Regions from separate parts of the Homo sapiens genome. Here region 1 is linked to region 2. Evidence: promoter capture Hi-C in 16 types of primary human blood cells and fetal thymus (Javierre and others, 2016). All regions are on one chromosome and are shown on one strand. Each heading gives the region's core, a stretch centred on a gene start or on the middle of the fragment in contact. The rest is flanking DNA. Distances are from core to core; before and after follow the strand shown. Region 1 overlaps DVL1 (dishevelled segment polarity protein 1). Region 2 holds the start of TTLL10-AS1 (TTLL10 antisense RNA 1).

Region 1 (4,307 bases), core at 129-2,628, 170 kb after region 2:
TCCACGCCCGGGACTTGGGCCCAGTGGAGAAATAGGAGCCCGGAGACGGGGCTTGGCCTGGCCGCACACCTGGCAGGAAGCGGCCTTGTGGCTGCTAGTCCCACTGCGAGCTACAGAGCCACCCCGACTGGCCGCTCCAGGTCCCCTGACCCCGGGGCACCTTGACTCAGCCAGACTCCGAAGCAGTAGGTAGCAGGAGGCCCCCGGCAAAGTGGCAAACCCACACTCTCACCCAAGCCCTGGCCCACCCACTTGCTGGGAAGAGGCCCCAAGCCTCAGGGCAGAGTGGACAGCAGGCAGGGCCAGCCCAGGTGGGAGCAGGGACCCCTACCTAGCCCTCTGGGGTCCTGCAGCTGCCTCCCCAGGCCACCCAGGGCCAGGCCATGAGGTAGACGCCCCCAAAGAGCAGAGAAGGTCACTTCTCAGACCCCTCCACGTCTGCTGCCCCCACACAGGAGCCTTCCCAGGTAAGACCATGACCCCATGCCAGGCTGAGGCCGCCACAGTGAGAGGCTGTCACACCTGAAAGGCTGGAGCAACCCAGGGTGAGGCGGGCCCCACGGACACCGAGGCCACCACTAGCTGCCGCCAGGGGGCCAGGGCCCACAGTGAGCCCTTGTCTCTAATGGACCTGACCACAGCAGAGCCCCTGGCAGGGTCCCCACCTCAGTCCCTGACACACGGCCCCAGGTGGCCTGGCCGGCAGCTTCTCCCCTGCCACACCCAACCCCAGCACCCTCTGACTCACCTGAGGGAGACACTCAGTCACCCAGCACCCTCTGACTCACCGGAGGGAGACTCGGCCACCCAGCACCCTCTGACTCACTGGAGGGAGACTCGGCCACCCAGCACCCCAGTACAGCACCCGCCTGGCTCCACCGGAAGAGGGCCCTGCCCCCTCCCACCATCCAGAGTGGCCCAAGCCCGCATGGCCCACCCAGCCAGGGCCTCACGAAGACCCCAGGCTGCCTGGGATGTCCCTGCCCCCTGCCCCCTCACAGATGTCCAGCCAGGACCCAGAGGCCCTACTCACTCCGCCCTCTTCAGCCCAACAGGGTGTAACAAGTCCTCCCCTGCCCCCAGTGGCAGGGTGCAGACCCAAGCCTGGCTGGGCCAGGAGAAAGGGAGCAGGACCCAAACAGCACAGAGGGAAGGGTGGGGTCTGCCTGGGGCTCCAGGGATCAGCTACCCAGGTCCCAGGCAGAGCCCTGCCGTCCCCACCCCAGCCAGATGGGGGAGGGTGCTGGAGGCTGGCCAGGCATTGGGGGCGTACCCACAACCCGGGGTCCCCGCGCCTCTGTAGCAGCCTCCGCTGAAACTCACGGCAGCTGCCAGGGGCGCCCCTGCCGGCACTGTGCCCCCACCTTGGGATTCCCTGTGAGGCCTGGCTAACCTGTGTGCTGCCCCCACAGACCCGCCCCGGGGAGGAATCCACTCAGAGGCAGCGCCCTGGGAGCCAGCATGGCCACACAGGATGCAGAGAACCCTCCAGACTCCCAGAGGCCACAGCCAGCTGCCCTAGACGTGGCGTGGTCCCGAATGCACCCCATTCTCCCAAGGCGGAGCAGGAAGCTGGCAGGGGTAGCTGGCCCAGGACAGGCGGTGCAGAGCCATCCTGTGCCCTCAGAGCCCCCTGTGCACGCCCCAGGTCAGGGCCCTCAGCCTTGGGGGTCTGTGGCCTCCCAACCCCTGACCCCAGAGCCAGGGGCTCTCCACCAGCCTGTCCCCTGGGTGGTGCCGAGTCCTGGGATCTCTCTGTGCCCCTCCCCCGGTTCAGGACACACAGGCTCAAGTGTCCCTGCTAGGCCATGGCTATGAGTGCAGTAGGTGAACTGCCTGGACCCTCCCAAAACCAGGGAGGCACTCAGGGCACAGAGAGGCTGAGTCACAGACCCCAAGTGGCACAGCCAGGGAGGGCGGAGTGGGAACTCCCCCCACAGCCCAGGCCAGGCAGAGCCTCCCCAACTCCATAGCTCCCCACAGCACCACCCAGGACACAAGGAGCTGTCACAACACCGAGGCCCATGGCAGGCGGCCCTGGGGACCAGGGCTTTGGGCCCACAGCCTTGCCTCCACCCATCCCCCAGTCCCAGGCCTGGGTCACCCCCACCTCGGAGATGAACTGTGGGAGCTGTGCCCAACAGACAGCCTCGGTGCCAAGTCCAGCAGGCCCAGCATCCGCCACGCACCCAGCAGTGGGGACCCGGAGCCAAACACCCTCCCTCCTCTGCCTCGGCCCAAGGCTGGGCGAGACCCCCTGCCAACCACCAAACCCAGCACCAGGCAGAGACCCTCCCCAATTCTGCCCTCCTCCCAGCCCTGGGGATCTTGGGTCAGAATAGCTGTGACCAGGGCATGAAAAGTGGAGGACAGGCGGGGGACCTTCACCCACTGGGCCAAAGCCGTGCGTGGGGAGTGGGGTCCAGACCAGGGCACGTGGTTGTGGCCATGACACAGGCTCCCTGCACTGCAAGGTGGTCAGTCATGCTCTGGAGCAGAGGCTGGGGAACCAGGGCTGGGCTGAGAATGCAGCGGGGGCTGGCGCAGGAACCCCCGACTCACCAGGGCCTCCTCAGCGTCCCCAGCCTGAAGCTCCCTCTCTTATGAAGGCCACCCCAGACCAGCGAGGACCTGCCTTCTCTTCCCCCCATCTCCAACTACATTCGCTTGGCATCCAGGGTCAGTGTCTAGTTCAGCAGTCGCTTAAGCTAAAGTATTACTGACCAACCAGCCCCTCCCACGGGGGTTCTATTCCACAGAACAGACAGTGCTGAGAGGTCTGCGGGTAGAACTCAGGGGAAGGGATGAAGGAAGTAATTGATGAGGGTCCTCCGTAGGCTCCTGAGGCCACCAGCCAGAGGACCAGGGAGGACACAGAGCAAGGCCCCCATCCCAGCCAGAGGACCTGGGAGGCTACAGAGCAAGGCCCTCGTCTTGGACCTCCAGCATCACCCCAGTCCATTCTTTCCAACCCCCACAGCCCAGCCCAGCCCAGCCCTGACCTCTGCAGCCCCACTGACTCCCAGCCCCCTGTAAGTCTGCAGCCTCCAAAGCTGTACACTGAAGCTCCCCTGTCTCTTTCCTGGCCGCATCCCCAAGCCTGCCTCGACACCCAGACCTGCCCACCCTGTTCCCAGGCCCGGGCACCCACGCGTCCTCCAAATGTGCCCAGCAGGTGCAGCCACTGCTAGAAGTGCACTAGGGCAACAGTCAGGCTGTCTCTGCCCTGGGCAGCCCCCGGTGGGTGTCAGGAGCAGAAGGCGGACTCCCCCAGGGCTTCATCCCAGAGCATGGTCCAGGAGCAGAACCTGGGGGCTGGGCACCTCCTCACTACGCATTTCCTGGTGGCACACATTTGCAACAAACAGCATTAGTAACTTTGGTAACTTTCGTTAGAATAATAAACTAAGTCAAAAACAAAAGTACCTGACACATGCCCCATGCTCAAGGCCAAAGCAGCCCAGGCCCAGAGAAGCAGGGACTGCAAGGTGCCCCAGCTGGGGAGGAGCCCGGACCAGACTCAGAAAACAAACCGCCCCCTCCTGCCCAACCTGACCGGAGCGGGCAGGAGGGCCGCTGAGCCGAGTGGGGAGCGCCCAGCCTTCAAAGGCTGCCAAGGACGCACCCTGCCCTCTCTGCTTTGCCTGGTCGTGGGGGTGGGGAAGGAAAGTACAGCTGTCTAGATGTCCCTTGGGCCCCCCTGAGAGCTCCAGAGCGGACCCAGCCTGACTGGACCTGGGGCTGCCTGAGGACCCTGCAACCACAGAATCCAAGAAACAACCTTAATGTCACAATCCCAAGAAGCGGCCACACACAAGGACACCGCTTGCCGGAGGCTCACCTCCTGGGGCCACGAGGCCTGAGCCCGCCCCCAGCACTGTTGAGCTGGGACTAGGGACTCAGGTTACTGGTGGCTGGGCCGGGCCAGGCCAGGCCTCAAGCAGACCGCCAGGCTCCTGCTCCCTGTCCCAGAGGGCCCAGCTCAGCACAGCAGGGGTCTCCTCGCCTGGGACACCACCACCGAGGCCCAGCAGGGAGACGCTGACCCAGGCTGCCCCGAAACAGCAGATGGTCTGGGCTGCTCCGGGAACGCAAGTGCTTTGTGGCTCAGTGGGGACGGGGCCCACAGGAAGCTCAGGACACGGGTAGGCGAATAAAGTTTCATGGTCACCAGTGGCCCTTGACCTCCACCCTGTCACAAGGACCCTGCAGAAGGGGGCCAGGAGAACCTGTCTTGACCCTCGGGAAGCTTCTGCAAACCCTAGCAGACAGGTTGGTGAACCTGTACCCCCATGTCTCCCCATCCC
Region 2 (3,822 bases), core at 730-3,229:
GCTGGGATTACAGGCGTGAGCCTCCGCGCCCGGCTGTCCTTGTGTCACTCTTCTTCACACTTGGGAGTCCCTCTGATGATGCCTGTTGGGCCTGGGCAGCCCCTTTGGCTGAGAGTCAGTACTTTAGAGGATCCCCTTCCCCAGCAGGAATCCTGGGTGCTGAGGGCCCATGAGAAGGAGCTGAGGTCTCCCATTTAATGCAGAGTCTTGCACGCACACACCTGCTCCGTGCCTGCGCAGGGTCCAGCCTCTTCCAAAAGTCCTCCTGTTCTGGGTGGGGAGGGGTCTCAGGGCTCCTGACTTCTTCCATTCTTGCCCAGCCCACCCTAGGAAGAGGGCGTGAGGCTCTCCCAGACACAGGTGGGGGGCCCAGCCTGTGTTCCGCTCCTCCCTGAGGACGGGTCCCAGTGGCCCCACCCGACTGGGTCATCGTGCAGACGGCTGCCTCAGTTTCCCCACCTTCCCCTGCCCGTGGGCTTCCTCGTTGTCTCCTTCCCTCCTGTCACTCAGGCGGGGCAGGGAGGGGCAGACACAAAGGCTTCCTGCGGGTGAGATTGGTGCCGAGCTCTGTGCCCAGCCTGGAGCCTCAGGCCTACCCCAGCCTTCTCCAGCCTCAGAGCCCCCACAGCCTCTGCCCAACACTGCCGTGTGCTCCCCTGTCTCCTGGGCGAGTTCCTTCAAACCCTTGAAAGCCCTCACCTAAGCCGGGCACAGTGGCTCACACCTGTTATCCCAGCACTTTCAGAGGCCGAGGCAGGCGGATCACCTGAGGTCGGGAGTTTGAGACCAGCCTGACCAACATGGAGAAAACCCATCTCTACTAAAAATACAAAAAGTTAGCTGGGCATGGTGGTGGGTGCCTGTAGTCCCAGCTACCTGGGAGGCTGAGGCAGGAGAATCGCTTGAACCTGGGAGGCAGAGGTTGCAGTGAGCCTAGATCGCCCCATTGCACTCCAGCCTGGGCCACAAGAATGAAGCTCCGTCTCAAAAAAAAAAAAAAAGTTCTCACCTCCCAAGCAGCCCCAAGATGGGTTTGTTTGCTGGAGACAGAGGTAGAAAGATCTGTCGAGGAACTGGCTGAAAATTCCTAAGTTGCAACATGGGAAGGTGTTGCTGGAGACAGTGTCCTGGGGGTCGGGCCTGGCACCCAGGGGCGGCCGCAGAGGAACCCTGATGGCAGGTACCAGGCGGCTGCACACAGCCCACAGCTGGGCTCCGGGGTCAGCAGCGGAGACAGAGAAGACCCCTGCTCAGGCCAAGGAGCCCTCCCACCCTCCATTCTTCAGGCAGGCGCCCCACCCAGCAGGCCTGACGCTGCCCCTCCTTCCAGCCGGCACCCAGGCCGAGCTCAGCCACACCTGAAGAGCCGCTCCGGCCAGGGAGGACATGCCCGGCAGAGACAGGGTGCAGAGACAGCCTCGCCCCCACACGGCGCCAGGCCCCACAGCTGCCACAGAGACGGGAGCCAGCCGCACGCAGAGGCTCAAGCCCACGGCCCTGGGAGGCGCCCTTTCCTGGGCAGGGTGGGCCTGACTGCCTGCTCCATCCAAGCACTGGGGCCTCGGGCCGCGCGGAGGTCCCACAGGAGGGTCAGAGCGGCATCTTCCCTTCAGGGCCCTCGCCCGGGCACCCCCCGGCCAATGGACCACAGCTGCACCCGGTTCATCCACCGCCGGGGACCACCCACTCGGACCCGAGCCGGCTTCAAGAGGGGCAAGAGGCCAAGGATCCAGCAGAGGCCTCGGGCTCGAGTCTCAGGTGAATAGAGCAGCCCTGGGTGGCCTCCTACCTCTCCAAGGCCAAGGCCTCCCTGGGACGGGTGCCCCATACCCAAGGAAGTCAGTCGGCCTCATGGGGCAGGGGCAGGATCCACACATGGCCATGCCCCGCTGCTCCGAGAGAGGGGCCAGCTGTGGGCGCCGGGCTCTGCAGGCACAGAGGGGAGCTGTCGCGCTCCGCGGCCCAGGGTTCCGCCTGGCTGGCACCACCCCTGGAAGGGCAGCCCCTCGTCTCCCGGCCTGACAATGGCCCCTTGGGTCACCCATGACATCATCATGGACATTGTGACCCCTGCCCTCCAGGGACCATCCCTGCGTCACGTCTGCACCCAGCACCGGCCTCACAGCCCGGCCCCTGCCCTGCACCAGGCCACTGCCCTGTTGGTGAGGAGGGTCGGAGGGGCGACCTCCCTGCCCCCTGCTCCAAGCTCCCCACCCCCACCTGGAACCTGCCGGCAGGAAGCCTGGCCCTGGAGGGTGGTCACGGCCCCTCCCCAGATGTAAGCAGTCCCCAGGCCGCCTGGTGGGGCCAGAGCTCGGGCTGAACTTGAGCCCCAGACGGGCCAGGGGGATTGTCCAGGGTATTGGAGAAATGGGCTGGGAGCAAACTGGCTGAGCCATGTCCGGGCTGAGTGGGCAGCTCCCGTAGCCACCCCGGTGGGACCCCACCCCGTTCACAGGCCCGGCCCACGAGAGGCCAATGGGGAGCAGCCAGGAGGAGGGACTCCGGTGTCAGCCAAGCCAGCCAGACCACGACGCAGATGGACACTGTGGGCCGGACCTGGAGGGGGCAGAAAGAGCCTCTGCCACACCCGGACCCCCTGGGCTCCTGAACAGCCACCGGCCTGCAGACTCGGATGACACTAACGCCGCCGGGCCCTCAGCTGCCCTCCTGGAGGGGCTCCTGCTGGGGGGTGGGAAGCCATCGCCCCACAGCACCCGGCCGGGGCCCTTCTTCTACATTGGAGGCAGCAACGGGGCCACAATGTGAGTAGCGGCCCTGGGCGCCCGTGGTCCCACTGAATACCCACCGCCTGCTCCCGGGGCCCAGCCCGGCCTCCGCTGGCCGCCCGCCATCCCCAACCCCTTGCCTCGGCCCCCAGGTCACCCCCGCCCCCACCCCTCGCAGCATCAGCTCCTACTGCAAAAGCAAGGGCTGGCAGCGCATCCATGACAGCCGCCGGGACGACTACACGCTGAAGTGGTGTGAGGTCAAGAGCCGAGACAGCTACGGCAGCTTCCGGGAAGGTAGCGGGAGCCGGCACCAGAGGCGGGCAGCCTGCAGGGGCCTCCTGGGCCGGAGCACAGGGCAGGTTGGAGGGGTGGGGACCGAGGTCCTGCGCTCCCTCCACACGAGCCCTGGCCTCTGACCTCCAGGAGAGCAGCTGCTGTACCAGCTTCCCAACAACAAGCTCCTCACCACCAAGATCGGGCTGCTCAGCACCCTTCGGGGACGGGCACGGGCCATGAGCAAGGCCAGCAAGGTGCCGGGGGGGGTCCAGGCCAGGTGAGTCTGCCCCTGCCCCTGCCCCCGTCCCTGCGCCCGCCCCTACGCCTGCCCCTGCCCCTGCCCCTGCACCCGCCCCACCCCTGCCCCTGCGCCCGCCCCTGCCCTTGCCCCTGCCCCTGGCCACCCAGGCTCCCAGGCTGGCTCCAGCCCCTGCCCCTGCCCTTGCCCCTGCCCCTGGCCACCTGGGCTCCCAGGCTGGCCCCAGCCCCCACCCGTCAGCACCTGCCTCCACCTTCCACCTGTCCTTTAAAGGGCCAAACCCCTGTCCCATAAACCCACCCTCTTCCTCGTGGCTGAACGGGGAAGATCCCACACGTCCCCAACCCACTGGGCCTGACACCCACCCACCTGTCCATCTCACAGACCCACCCAGGTACAACCCACCTGTCAATCTGCCTTCACCCCAAACATCCATCCAATCCATCCACAATCCCACACCGTGCCCACCGTCACCTGTGGGTGCCCTGAGTGAGGCCGTCCATCGCTCACCCAAGTCTGGGCCATCCATCCTAGCGACTTCGTCCTCCTGCTCCC

The links. The method cuts DNA at HindIII sites, captures the fragments that hold promoters and counts their contacts. A CHiCAGO score of 5 or more calls a contact.
Region 1: a fragment that was not itself captured here is called in contact with the fragment with the promoter of TTLL10-AS1 in region 2 in 1 of 17 cell types (activated CD4 T cells); the score reaches 6.0 in activated CD4 T cells.

The regions. Positions count from the first base shown.
Region 1 is chr1:1,344,210-1,348,516 of GRCh38, forward strand. The region is part of intron 1 of DVL1 (dishevelled segment polarity protein 1); the gene reads right to left. Among named protein-coding and RNA genes, the nearest start is that of DVL1, 3.1 kb to the right of the region's middle. RefSeq lists enhancers at 1,832-2,710, 2,912-3,541, 3,542-4,171 and a silencer at 3,724-3,900. The HindIII fragment of the contact is 5,737 bases long and covers 1-4,247 here.
Region 2 is chr1:1,177,576-1,181,397 of GRCh38, forward strand. TTLL10-AS1 (TTLL10 antisense RNA 1) reads right to left here and starts at 1,980. Exons shown (of 2, transcript NR_173246.1): 1 at 1,790-1,980. TTLL10 (tubulin tyrosine ligase like 10) reads left to right here. Exons shown (of 16, transcript NM_001130045.2): 4 at 1,614-1,758; 5 at 2,082-2,162; 6 at 2,459-2,765; 7 at 2,908-3,026; 8 at 3,156-3,285. The coding sequence starts at 1,641. RefSeq lists an enhancer at 1,596-2,095. The HindIII fragment of the contact is 12,910 bases long and covers 1-3,822 here.